2 separate regions of the Homo sapiens genome follow, and region 2 is linked to region 1. The links are contacts of gene promoters, found by promoter capture Hi-C in human tissues and cell types (Jung and others, 2019). All regions are on one chromosome and are shown on one strand. The core of a region is centred on a gene start or on the middle of the fragment in contact, and the rest is flanking DNA. Distances in the headings are between cores, read along the strand shown.

Region 1 (6,043 bases), core at 1,863-4,362:
ATCCTGAGCTTCAAAACACTTTGCTATAAATTTCCTTTGCTATAGAGAGTTCTTGGGCTCAGGAGTCAGGGAAAGGAAACTTTTTGATGGTCGAAGAAGAATAATAAATGTTTACGTAGCTCTTACTGGGTGCCAGACACTGTTCTGAGGACTTTACATTCATTAATCCACTTAAACAATGAGATCAAAGGCAGATTCAGAGAAAAGGTTTTGGGAAAAGGATTTAGTCTGTCTAAATCCTCCCAAGTCTCTAAGAGATGTCTAAAAAGTTTTTTTTCCTCCAAAACATAGGGGGTGGCTGAGTTGTGCTATTTGCGTATATTTGCATATGCAAGGGGTGGGTGATGAAAGGTCTGGAGTAGTGGGATGAATGACCCATGACCTGTGCCCTGTTATGCATTGTACCTAAAGGCTGGGGGTCCACAGAAGAAGATGAAAAACCAAGCCTATTCTCAATAAGGAGGACCTTGGAGGTACATGTATTCTCATGGTCGGCCGGGGCCCACAGAGACCCCTAAATCCTCCCTACAACATACCAACACACACGCTCCTGCCCATATGCACCCATAAACTCACACACATTCCCTCTGTGTTGAAATCACTTTCCTCTAGAGAATCTATCTGCATAGGCTGAAACTGGGCTTCCTGTAGGGCTGGGAGCCTGGGAAGCAGTTGAACTGCCACTTGGACAGTGATGACCATGGTTGGCTCAATTGGCCTCTGTAGCCTCAGTTTCCATAGCCTTAATATGGAAAGGTTGGGCTGAGTGGATCTTTAAGACCCATCCTTCCATTTCCAAACTGCGAGCTCTCCCAGGTAGCTGAGATTGACACAATCTCAGTCCCCTTATCTATAGAGTAGGGATGAGGCTTGGGGACTGATGTTCAGAAGTTCCTTTCAATGTTGAAGACTTTTGTCAGAATAGAAAACTGTCTCCTGGCCAATTCTAGTATAACATCAACAACCACAGTGGCAAACATAGTAATGGCAATAACTCATTTTTTAAATGCTTCCTATGTGCTAAGCACTTCACCTGCACGAGCTCATTGAAGATCTCCAAAACCCTTGATAAGGACCCTTGTTATCCCCACTTGGGGCTCAGAGAGGTGAGGAAACTTGAGTCTCAGAGAGGTCCCATGGGCACAAGCTAGTGAAGGACAGAAAATACCCCTAGTTACTCCCGCTTTCAAACTCAGTCTTGGCCCCTTCCCACTTTTGCTGGGCAGAAAGGCAAGATCTTGGGATATACGAGGCGCAGTCTGCAAGGATATTTTGTTCAACTTCTTTCCTACTTGCTTATTGTATTGGTGAGGAAACTGAGGTCCGAGAGTAAGGAGGCAAGTCACTGCTATGAATGGAATGTCTGTGTCTCTCCTCTTCCCTGCCCCCAATTCATATGTTAAAGCTCTGACTCCCAATGTGATGGTATTGGGAGGGGGGACCTTTGGGAAGTGATTAGATTTAGATGGGATCCCATCCTTATGATGGGATTAGTGTGCTTATAAGAGGAAGAGACCAGAGCTTTCTCTTACTCTGCCATGTGAGGGTACAGTGAGAAGGCGGCCATCTGCAAGCCAGGAAGAGAGTCCTCACCAGGAATAAAATCTGCTGGCATCCTGATCTTGAACTTCCCAGCCTCCAGAACTGTGAGAAATAAATGTTTGTTGCTTAAGCTCCCCAGTCTGTGATATTCGCAGCCTGAGCTGATGAATACACTCAGAGAGTTTAGGACAGAACTGAAACCCCTTGCCCAAATGAGCTAAGACTATCCCTTATTGTTACCACTAGGGATGCTAGATTAACAAAAAAAAAAAAAAAAAAGAAGGATACCTAGTTAAATTTGATTTCAGGTAAACAAACAGATAATTTTTAGTATAAATACGTCCCATGTAATATTTGGGGCATGCTTACACTAAGAAATAATTTATTAATATTTATTTATTGGTATTTTATCTGACAACCCTATCAACCCTCTGTTTAAAGTCACTCTAACACTATCACAACCCAATAATTTGGCCTTATGAGAATCTCCATCTAGGTATTTCATTATTAGTTTTACTTGAACGGGGATTTAAAAATGATATCTCTGCCACTGCTATGATAAATAAATCCATATATGAACATAAACAAGCCTGGAAAGAACCTGGTAGAGGTGACAGTCAAGACTCTTGGCCACCAAATTATAGGATTCAGAACTCTTCTCATCCAGATGAGGGTCCCCCAGAATCAGTAACCCAGCCTTCCTATTGCAAAGTGGAAGAAGTTGAGCTCATTTGAAGACCCTCACCCTCCATATGGGACACTGGGAGGCCACATGCCCAAGGCTGACAGGTTCTCATCCCTGGGGATGCCCCACAAGGCTGGGGGTTGCTGGGCCAGGCCTCCAGGGAGGCCATTAGAGGGACAAGTCTCCCTCCCTGCGCACCTAACCTCTGGTGGCACTGCAGCAGCTCTGAAAGCTCCCTGGGAAGGCTGTCACAGCCAAGGTGGGGTTGGGGCCCAGATGCCAAATCCCTCACAAAACTACCATGTTCAGATCTTCCTGTAGTGCCAGACACTGTGCAAAGCACTTTCCTCATGTTATCTTATCTGCCTTGCACAGTAGCCCAAAGAGAATGCCATTGCGACCCAACTTTCTAGAAGAAGCTGAGGCTCAGAGAGATCAAGAAACTTCCTCTATGTCACACAGCTTGTAAACTGCAAAACTGGGATTCAAACCCAGGACTTTTTGTGTCTGGGCCTAGAAGAGTGCCCATGACAAAGCTGGTAGGGGGAAAGCTGTCAGGAGACTCGGGTCAGGCCACCCCAACCCCCCAACAGAAGCTGCCAGGCCTCACCGATAGAATAAGTTCCTGAGAGTGTACTCCTCTCCACCTGCTCCCAGCCCTGGTCCCTGCACTTACCTGGACTGATACTGATGTCTGTTTGTGGAAAGGCCTGTGCAGAGTGGAGGGTCAGGAAGGCTGCAGCCCACAGTGTCCACCTTTGCATCCTGAGCTCCTAGAAAGCAACCTCCCAGCCTGAGTGGAGGAGAGAGGCTTTTTGGCTGGAGCTTGGGTCCAGGATTGCTCTCCTAGGGTCAGATGGAGCCTGGCAGGAGCTGGGACAGACTGGATGGACTCCAGTCCCCTCCTCTTTTCTTCCTTTTCTCCTCCCTCCTCTTCACACTGTTGGAGACAGCTCAGAATGACAGCTGAAAGCAAAGCAGCCTAGGCCAGCCCCCCTCAAAGAACCAAGAGACATTTTAGCTCCCAAGCTTGCCTCTGAACCAAGACAAAATTTAGCTCTCAGTCTTGTCTCTGAGTCACGCTGTGGCCTTGGGTGTGCACTTCTCTGAGACTCAGTTTCCCCCTCTGTAAAATGGGATGGTAACGAAACTCACATTCCAGCCTGTCACAGGAGACAAAGCATCTCACCTCCCTCAGAGTAGATATGTACTGGAAGGTAAAATTACTGCAAGTAAGCATTGAGCGCAGAGGTCTCCTGGGCCATGGATGTCATTTGTTTGGTCTGCAGAGTTTTAAATTCTAAAAAATTTGTTAAGGTATAAAACCAAGAGATGCTAGGTATAAGTCCGGATTTCTGCCTTCTATTGGAAAATCGGAAGACCTAACGAAACATAGCCCTCATTTCTACAGGGCAACAATTGCATGGAGCTGAGAAAGAGCATCTCTTTCAGCCAGGCTCTTTGAGCTTCGGTTCACCAAGGTCTCCACCCCATGGGTCTGATCCTGACAGCATCCACCGCTGAGGAAGCACCAGGAAGCCTGTGTGAGTCAGCCTCCTTTCCTCTCCCTTCACCTCTCAGGGTCTCTCAGGGTTCCTCCGGGGGTTAAAGGAGGCATCTGTAGAAGATTCAACAGAGTGTTGCACAGAATAAGTGCTCCACAAAGAGGTGCAAGTGTCATCACTAGTGCATAGCTCTACTGTGTGGCTTGCTCAGAATTCAATGTTTAAAAACCCCTAGTGTTTTCATTGGGATCTCATCGCTCTTTTGGAGAATCAATATTTCTAAAAACCACAGTCTTTCTCCCCCACTTTCTGTGTCCTTAGACAAGTCACTTTGCCTCTCTGAACCTCAGTTGCCTCCTCTGTAAAATGGGGGATAAGTAGAGTACCTACCTCACAAGGATTAAATGAAGTAATTTGTTTCTAAAACTTGGCATAGATGCTGGCAAGTAGTAGGTGCTCAATAAATGACAGCAACATTTGCTATTGTTGTCATTGATCTAGTGCAAGGCTTTCCTTGGCATCACCCACATCCCCTGCCCCTGCACTCCCTTATTCCTCTCCAGAAATGCTCTGCCAGGTGCCCTGACACCTCATGTGGCTGGCACTCACAGGGACTGGAATGTGTCTGTTTGGCTTCCAAGTCTTTCTGGAACACCTGCTGCTGTGCTTGTGAGAAATAACTTAACTTGTGCCCACACAGCTTGCCTTGCCTGCTGGCACTGGAGCTGAAAGTCTGCCAAGGTCTGACTCAGAATATGAGCACAGCTCAGGCTCAGCTTCAACCTACAGGATGCCTCCTCGGGTAGATCTGTTGCCTCAAAACTAGTGTACTGGTGCATATCCCAGAGCATGCACACTTACTTATTTATAAATGGGATATATTTATTACATGTTTATAAGTGATGTGCAGGTACGACTCACTGTACTAATATATTATTTCTGTTATAAAACACACACACCCACATTGGACATTATTAAAGGTTGATAAAAGATATAAATGTGGAAGAAAGTTTGGATATTTTCTCCCTACTCCCTATCATCTTGCAAGCTGAAATTTGGGGGCTCCTGCTGTCATGTTCCTGGGTGCTGCTTGGAATTTAAAAGTGTCTATCTTAGTCTGTTTTGTGCTGCTATACTAGAACACCTGAGACTGGTAATTTATAATGAACAGAATTTATTGGTTCACAGTTCTAGAGACAGGGAAGGCCAAGATCAAGGTGTTGGCATCTGGTGAGGGCTTTCTTGCTGAGTCATCATATGGTGGATAGTGAGAGGGTAAAAGAGAGATGAGTCACAGAGAGAGAGAGACAGAGCTTTTTAAAGAGGGGATGAACCCACTCCTGCCATACCTGAGCTACTCTTGTGATAACATCTTTGATCCATGTATGAGGGAAGAGCTCTTATAACCCAGACACCTCTTAAAAGTCCTGTAACCTCATCGGACCAGTCTAGTTCAACTTTTACGTAACAAAGTTGTGAGTTGTTTTTCATTTGCCATGGACCCTCAGATTGAAGGTCATGTAACCTGAGCATGCCCAGATGAACCAAGTGTGCAACCACAGGGGGAACCTAAGTGCTCAGACTGAGGAGCAGGGACTGAATTCAGAAGCAGACACTACATGGCAGGATCCAGAATCCAATCGGATTGAGCTCTGACGTTACCCCATGGCAGGATCCAATCAGGTCATGCCTCCCCACATCATCTCATTGCAAGATCCAATCAGATCATGCCTCATTACCCTATGCTTATAAAACCTGACCCAAACCCTAGCGTGGGGAGACAGATTTGAGCCTTTCCTCCTGTCTCCTTGCCAGCTGACTAGCAATAAAGCTTTTCTCTTCTTAAAAGCCAGTGCCATGATATTGGCCTCTGGGCACATTGGGTAGCAAGCCCATTGATTACTCAGTACCAGTCCCGCCTCCCAATATCATCACAATGACAATTAAATTTCAACTTGAGTTTTGGAGGGGACAGACATTCAAACCATAGCAATGTCTCTCTGGGTGTGGACACATTAAGTGGGAAGGAGAAGAGTGGTCCAAAGCAGGCCACTAGAAATCCTTCTAAAAAGTGGAGAATCCTTTGATTTGGCAAATAAACCTCCTAAATTATCTGTGTTGTATTTTGATGCCTGAAGGTTTTTATAAATCAGTTCATGTACCCTCTCTGAATGGAGACACACAAGATATTTGTTACTTGCTCAAACACAAGTATGGTCAATGGGCCAGCAGCACGGGGATCTCCTGGTAGCACATTAGAAATGCAGAATCTCAGGCCCCCCAAGACCTGCTGAATCAATTCTGCGTCCCA
Region 2 (5,671 bases), core at 135-2,634, 480 kb after region 1:
GGAACCTTATTTTCGCAAAAAACCTAGCTGGAATAATAATGCCATATTGTATTTTGCACACTGCTTTATTTTCTAGAGGCTCTGGGAGCAAATTACATTCATCACATTACCTCTGCTCTCTCAAGATTAAAGTCTTTCAGCAACATTCTTTATTGTCATCATAAGGAAAAACTTTTATCGCAATGATAGTCAGTTCACATTAGTTTAGCACTATAGATAGTATTCAGAAATTGCTTTCTCTTTGGTAAAGAAGATAAATAGGTGAATTTTATTGCCTGTGTTTTCAGGCTTCAGAGGTACCTGGCACCTTACTCAAGCAAAAACAAAAAACAGCTTTACTTCAAAAGCATGTGCCTCTGGTAAATTATCCATCACTTTTGTTTTAAAGTGGTCCCTCCAAGAATAATGTGGCATACACAGTGGGTTTGGTTGTAAGGCAGATGTAATAGATGACTTCAAAAGCCTGCTCCTTACTGCACTCTGGACAAGGCCCTGGTCTGTATAGTTTGGCTTCCTCTGTTAAGTCATTCTACAAGGTGACTTGCCATTTGAACTTTCGTAAGAGACCTCAGCAGTTAGACTGAGAAAAGTTAGAGTGCTGTAGTTATGAAGTCATACATTTTTGATAAAATACCTGTGGAAAACCAGGGATCCTCTCCTGTTTCTCTCTCTTGCCTCCCCCTTTCCCTCCATTCCTCTGTCGCCTCCCCCTCTCCTCCACTTTCTTTAAGAATCAGGGGGTACAGAATAACCTACAAACAACCTCTTCAAAGTACCCTTGGAAATTGAAGTTCAATCTTAAGTTTTTTGCTGTCTTTAATTTACTAGAATTGCCTAATTTTTAGTTGATTTCTCTACAGAGCTTAGCTTGTGTAGTTATTTCTCTTTTACTGTTGCTTTGGTGTGTCTTGAAGTTTGATTGATTATTTTTGGTCATTGAGTTCTTAGTGTAGTTTGCTAGATGATTATTAAGATTCTTTTGTGTCTGACACTTGTGGTGAGTTGCTTTTGAAATCTGTTGAGATTTCCATGTGAGAACTGATAATCAGGCTCTTGATCTGCTTCCCTAAATTACTTTTTTAGAGCCCAAACCCCAGGTTTAGGGTGAGGGTTTGTAATACAAAGAAACACTTCCATCACTTCTGCCCTTAACCCTTGCCTCTATTACCTAAGCTTAGTAAGTAGTTTTCTTAATATTGTCCAATGTTTGGTGTTATCTGCATTGTTTTTTGTTTTTTTAATTGTGGTTGTTCTGACGTGTGAAATTTAAGGAAAGAGCCATTTTTTAAAAATGCCGAGCAGGGCAATGCAAGTACAGCCAAATATTAGACTTGATGTGCAATCTTCGGTCCTTTTTAATCTGGGGTATTATAGGCAGTACTTTAAATTGCAAAGTCTTCCGGGCCTATTTTCCTCTACATTTTTGTAATTAACTCTGGGGGCTTACTTGTTTTGGCAGTACTGAAATCAAAGGAGCTGGTTCTTCTTTTCTCCCAATTATTTTCATATGAAAGCACCTACAATTAGCCTGTTAGTCCTATTCAGATACATCAAATATCAGTGAATGCTTTACTATTCGCACATTTAAGCATCTTTGTTTTACATAAAATTAGAGTATGAAAACCAGTGTTCAATTTTTTATCTTGTTGAGCTTGTAAAATGCCAGCAATTTAAAACTAGGACTTTTCCCCCCATAAGCCAAGGAGGTAGAATTACTAATACAAGGGTTAAAGAAGGTAGATTTTGTTTTCAATATTTGGGTAATATTAGAAAGATTCTTCCCACAGGGAAGAACTAGCAAGTGTCCCAATTTTTTCCAAACGTTGGGGAGGGGAAAATTCACTGTATCATGAAACCCTAAGGGTTTGTTGCACTTCCTGCTTTTTAGGCCTGGATAACAGTATCACCATCCTTATTTACAGAAGGGTAAAACTGACTCTTAATGAGAAAAGCTTTATAAGTTCAAGGGCTGTAAAATATGAACTACTTAGGGTCGTTTGCCTTCCATGGGAACTTGGCTAGACTTAGAAAAAGCTGTTTGTTGTGCTAATGTAAAAGTGTCATACAATTTAGAAGATTTTTGAAGATGGTAAACTTAGAAGAATTCTATGTTCTGAAATGCACACTTTTAGAATGTTTTTCTTTGAAAACAGGCTAATAGTTTTTTCTTTTTTTGACAAAGTTTCAGCTCCTCTTTAAAGTTATTGTGTCATTTTTCTGGTTTAAATTTCCCTTATATTTCCACCTGTAATGTCAGTGGCAACAACATCATACTTCACTTACTTGTTAATTTACTTTTTACCCTTATTCTAAGAGCAAGTTGAGTTGAACTGAATCTTCCTTGTCTTAGTAACAATGTATAAATAGTGGCTTTTCTGTACAAAAGGTTGTAATGCCTCCTGATGGATATAATTTTGTGATTGTATTTAAAAGTTGAATAAATCACACCAGCTTCCTGAAAATGTTCATAATGCATCTTTTGGAAAACAAATACATGCCTACTTTGTGCATATTTGCATTAACATGGCAAAGATTGTATGAAATACCTGTTTTTCAGAAAATAAAGGTTCAGTCTCAAAAGATACAGCATTTAAGTTCTGAATTTATTGGTCAAAATAGATTTTGGAAAACTTGAAACCTTTTGGAACCTGGGTAGCTTGAAAAAACAAAACGACAGGGTCTCCCTATGTTGCCCAGGCTGATCTCGAACTCCTGGGCTCAAGTTACACTCCCACTTCAGCCTCCCAAAGTGCTGGGATTACAAGCCTGAGCCACTAAGCCGAGCCAAGCCTAGTCTTTTTTTTCTGAATAGCACTAATACCTCAAAAAAGACCCCTAAATTCTCAGAAAAGTAACTATTTTATTCTCAAACATCTGTTGTATTTTTGAATAGCAGTAGAAATTCTACTTCAACGATAAAATTCTTTGTGTTAAGGCCCAATTTATAAAGCTTAATTTTGGCAGTATTTAAAAACAAAATTCCCGTAGATCATTATTGACAGATAGGTGCATTCCTTGGAGTGTGAAACCTCTGAAAAAAAATAGAAAATGTCCAGCTTGGCTTTATATCTTGGAGATTGCATTTGTTGCTGCTAAATGAAGTTAGTAAGATTTGTGTTAACTGCTTAGTCATCTGGCACATTTCAAAAGATCACATCCTGTCTCTGTAGGACAAAAACAAAGCTCTAAAGAAAGCTATGTTAAGGGTGGGTGTTTTTTAATAATTAGACCAATCGGAAATTTAGTGAGAGACCATATAGCAGGGCTGTGCATTTAGAAATAGGTATGGGAATACATTGTTAAGTAACAAAAAATACTAAGTGGAGAAACTGCTGTTTCAGTTGCTTCTGTTTTTTTCACCTACCTTCATTTCACAAGCTGGTGTTAACAAGTCTTAAGTTGTGCATGGAAAACTTGGGTGAAAACAAGAAGCATATTCTGCAGCAAAAGCTGATTTCCCAAAAGTAGAAATGTCAGTTTTAAACCCTAATAAAATACCCTCTCTTTTGGAAGTGGCTATTACTGTGGGTCTAGCAAGATCACATACCCAGTGCTCAACATATTCACTAATTATGTGGCTGCTGATTGCTTCGATCTTTTTGACTTTTTTTTTTTTTTTTTTTTTTGAGACAGGTTTTTTGCTCTGTCACCCAAGCTTAAGTGCATAGGTGCAATCATAGCTCACTGCAGCCTCTATTTCCTGGGCTCAAGGGATCTTCCCTGCCTCCCCATTTGTATTTTTTTTTTTTTAGGGGCGTGGAGAAGAACCTGCTCCTCAGACTCCATAGCTTTAAAATCTCTCCAAATAGCGTCTCTGTCAACTGGCTGTATCCTGCCTTTACAACTTCTTTACCCCAACATTCTCCAAAGTGGCACTTTATTGAACAGTCAGCTTCCCTTGCAAAGACTTTTTTTCAAGTGCTTCTCCCTGATTCAGATACTTCACTCCCCTTTCCCCGAAAGACCCACAGCAAATTGACACCCTTCCATGAAATTCACAATGCTCCTGCCCTTGCCCAGCTCTCTTAGGGGCAGTATGTGGTCTGCAGCTATGTTCTCTCACATTTATGACTTCCTTGAACATTTAAGAACCTGGTGGTTACTTAAGGAACATTTTAAAAATAAATTTAAATTCAATGGCCGAATACAAATGACCATGAGATTGGAAGTTAAAACCTGTAAAAAAGATAAAAGGTTGGAAGTTAAAACTATAGTTAATTCACCTGAAACAAACATCTGATCCGGACATTTGGCATGATTCTGTTTGTATCAAACGATGAAAAATCGGCCGGGCGCGGTGGCTACTGCACTACAGCCTGGGCAACAGAGCCAGGCTGTGTCTCAAGAAAAAAAGAAAAAAAAAAAAAAAAAAAAAAAAAAAAGATCAAAGCACTTGTTACTGCATTTGAAATCCTGGATAGAAAAGATGTACAAGTGCCTCAACACAGTTCCTAAACTGCCTAGGAATTCTACTGCTTGTGAGAGGGTTTACATATTTTCTTAGCTTGACCTCTAATGGAAGAAAGGTCGTGTCAAGAACTATCCTTTTGGCCGGGCGCGGTAGCTCACGCCTGTAATCCCAGCACTTTGGCAGGCTAAGGCGGGCGGATATCTTGAGGTCAGGAGGTCCAGACCACCCTGGCCAAAATAGCGAAACCCCGTCTCTATTAAAATACAAAAATTAGCCGGGCGTAGTGACGGGCGTCTGTAATTCCAGCTACTCGGGAGGCTGACGCGCCAGGATCACTTGAACCCGGGAGATGGAGGTTACAGTGAGCAGAGATCGCGCCACTGCACTTCAGCCGGGGCCACGGAGCGCGAGACTCCTTCGTCTCAAACAAACAAACAAACAATTCTGGCCGGGCGCGGTGGCTCACGCCTGTAATCCTAGCACTTTGGGAGGCCGAGGCGGGCGGATCACGAGGTCAGGAGATCGAGACCATCCTAACACGGTGAAACTACGTCTCTACTAAAAATACAAAAAATTAGCCAGGCGTGTTGGCGGACGCCTGTAGTCCCAGCTACTTGGAAGGCTGAGGCAGGACAATGGCGTGAACCCGGGAGGCAGAGCTTGCAGTGAGCAAGATCGCGCCACTGCACTCCAGGCTGGGCAACATAGCGAGACTCCGTCTCAAAAAAAAAGAAAAAAAAAAAAAGAATCCTTTTGGAGAGGGAGCTTGTAGTTTAAGTAACTTAAACATCCACGTATAATAAAGCCACTTAGAAGGCGGTGCATTTTCACACGTTCTCAAACCAGGCCTGGGTTTTTCCGCGCAAGCTAAGGCCTCATTCCTACTGGGTAGGAGAGAAACATTGCAGCAAAATCCACACAAAGAGCTCTTTTCACTTGTCCTCAAAACCTCACGGGTCGCAAATCCGGGCTAAACGGCTCAGGGGCCTGGCTGGGGAACTGGGCCGAAGGTGGAACGGATCCCAGCCACCTCGGGGCCAGGAAAAGATGAAGTGTCGCAGGCCCGGCGTCCCCGCCCTCCGCCTGAGGCAACGGAGCATCTCTCTTCGAGTAGCCCATTTTCCAGAGAGTCTCCTCGGCTGCGAAAGCCAGACGAAGAGGGACCCAAAGCCACCGCAGCGGCAAGAGCCGGAGAACCACTGAGGGACAGCGCCCCCTGCAGAGGCGGTTGAACCGCTTCCCACAGCGCTGGGCGGGGCG

What was found. Contacts are between HindIII fragments. The study calls those that stand out against the background at their distance.
Region 2: a fragment that was not itself captured here is called in contact with the fragment with the promoter of CLEC19A in region 1 in 1 of the 25 tissues and cell types used here (dorsolateral prefrontal cortex).

Annotation. Positions count from the first base shown.
Region 1 is chr16:19,282,800-19,288,842 of GRCh38, reverse strand. It overlaps CLEC19A (C-type lectin domain containing 19A), which reads right to left and starts at 3,112. Exons shown (of 5, transcript NM_001256720.2): 1 at 2,904-3,112. The coding sequence starts at 2,991. The HindIII fragment of the contact is 9,003 bases long and covers 1-4,410 here.
Region 2 is chr16:18,801,771-18,807,441 of GRCh38, reverse strand. It overlaps SMG1 (SMG1 nonsense mediated mRNA decay associated PI3K related kinase), which reads left to right. Exons shown (of 63, transcript NM_015092.5): 63 at 1-2,582. Among named protein-coding and RNA genes, the nearest start is that of ARL6IP1, 3.1 kb to the right of the region's middle. RefSeq lists an enhancer at 5,350-5,589. The HindIII fragment of the contact is 3,839 bases long and covers 1-3,303 here.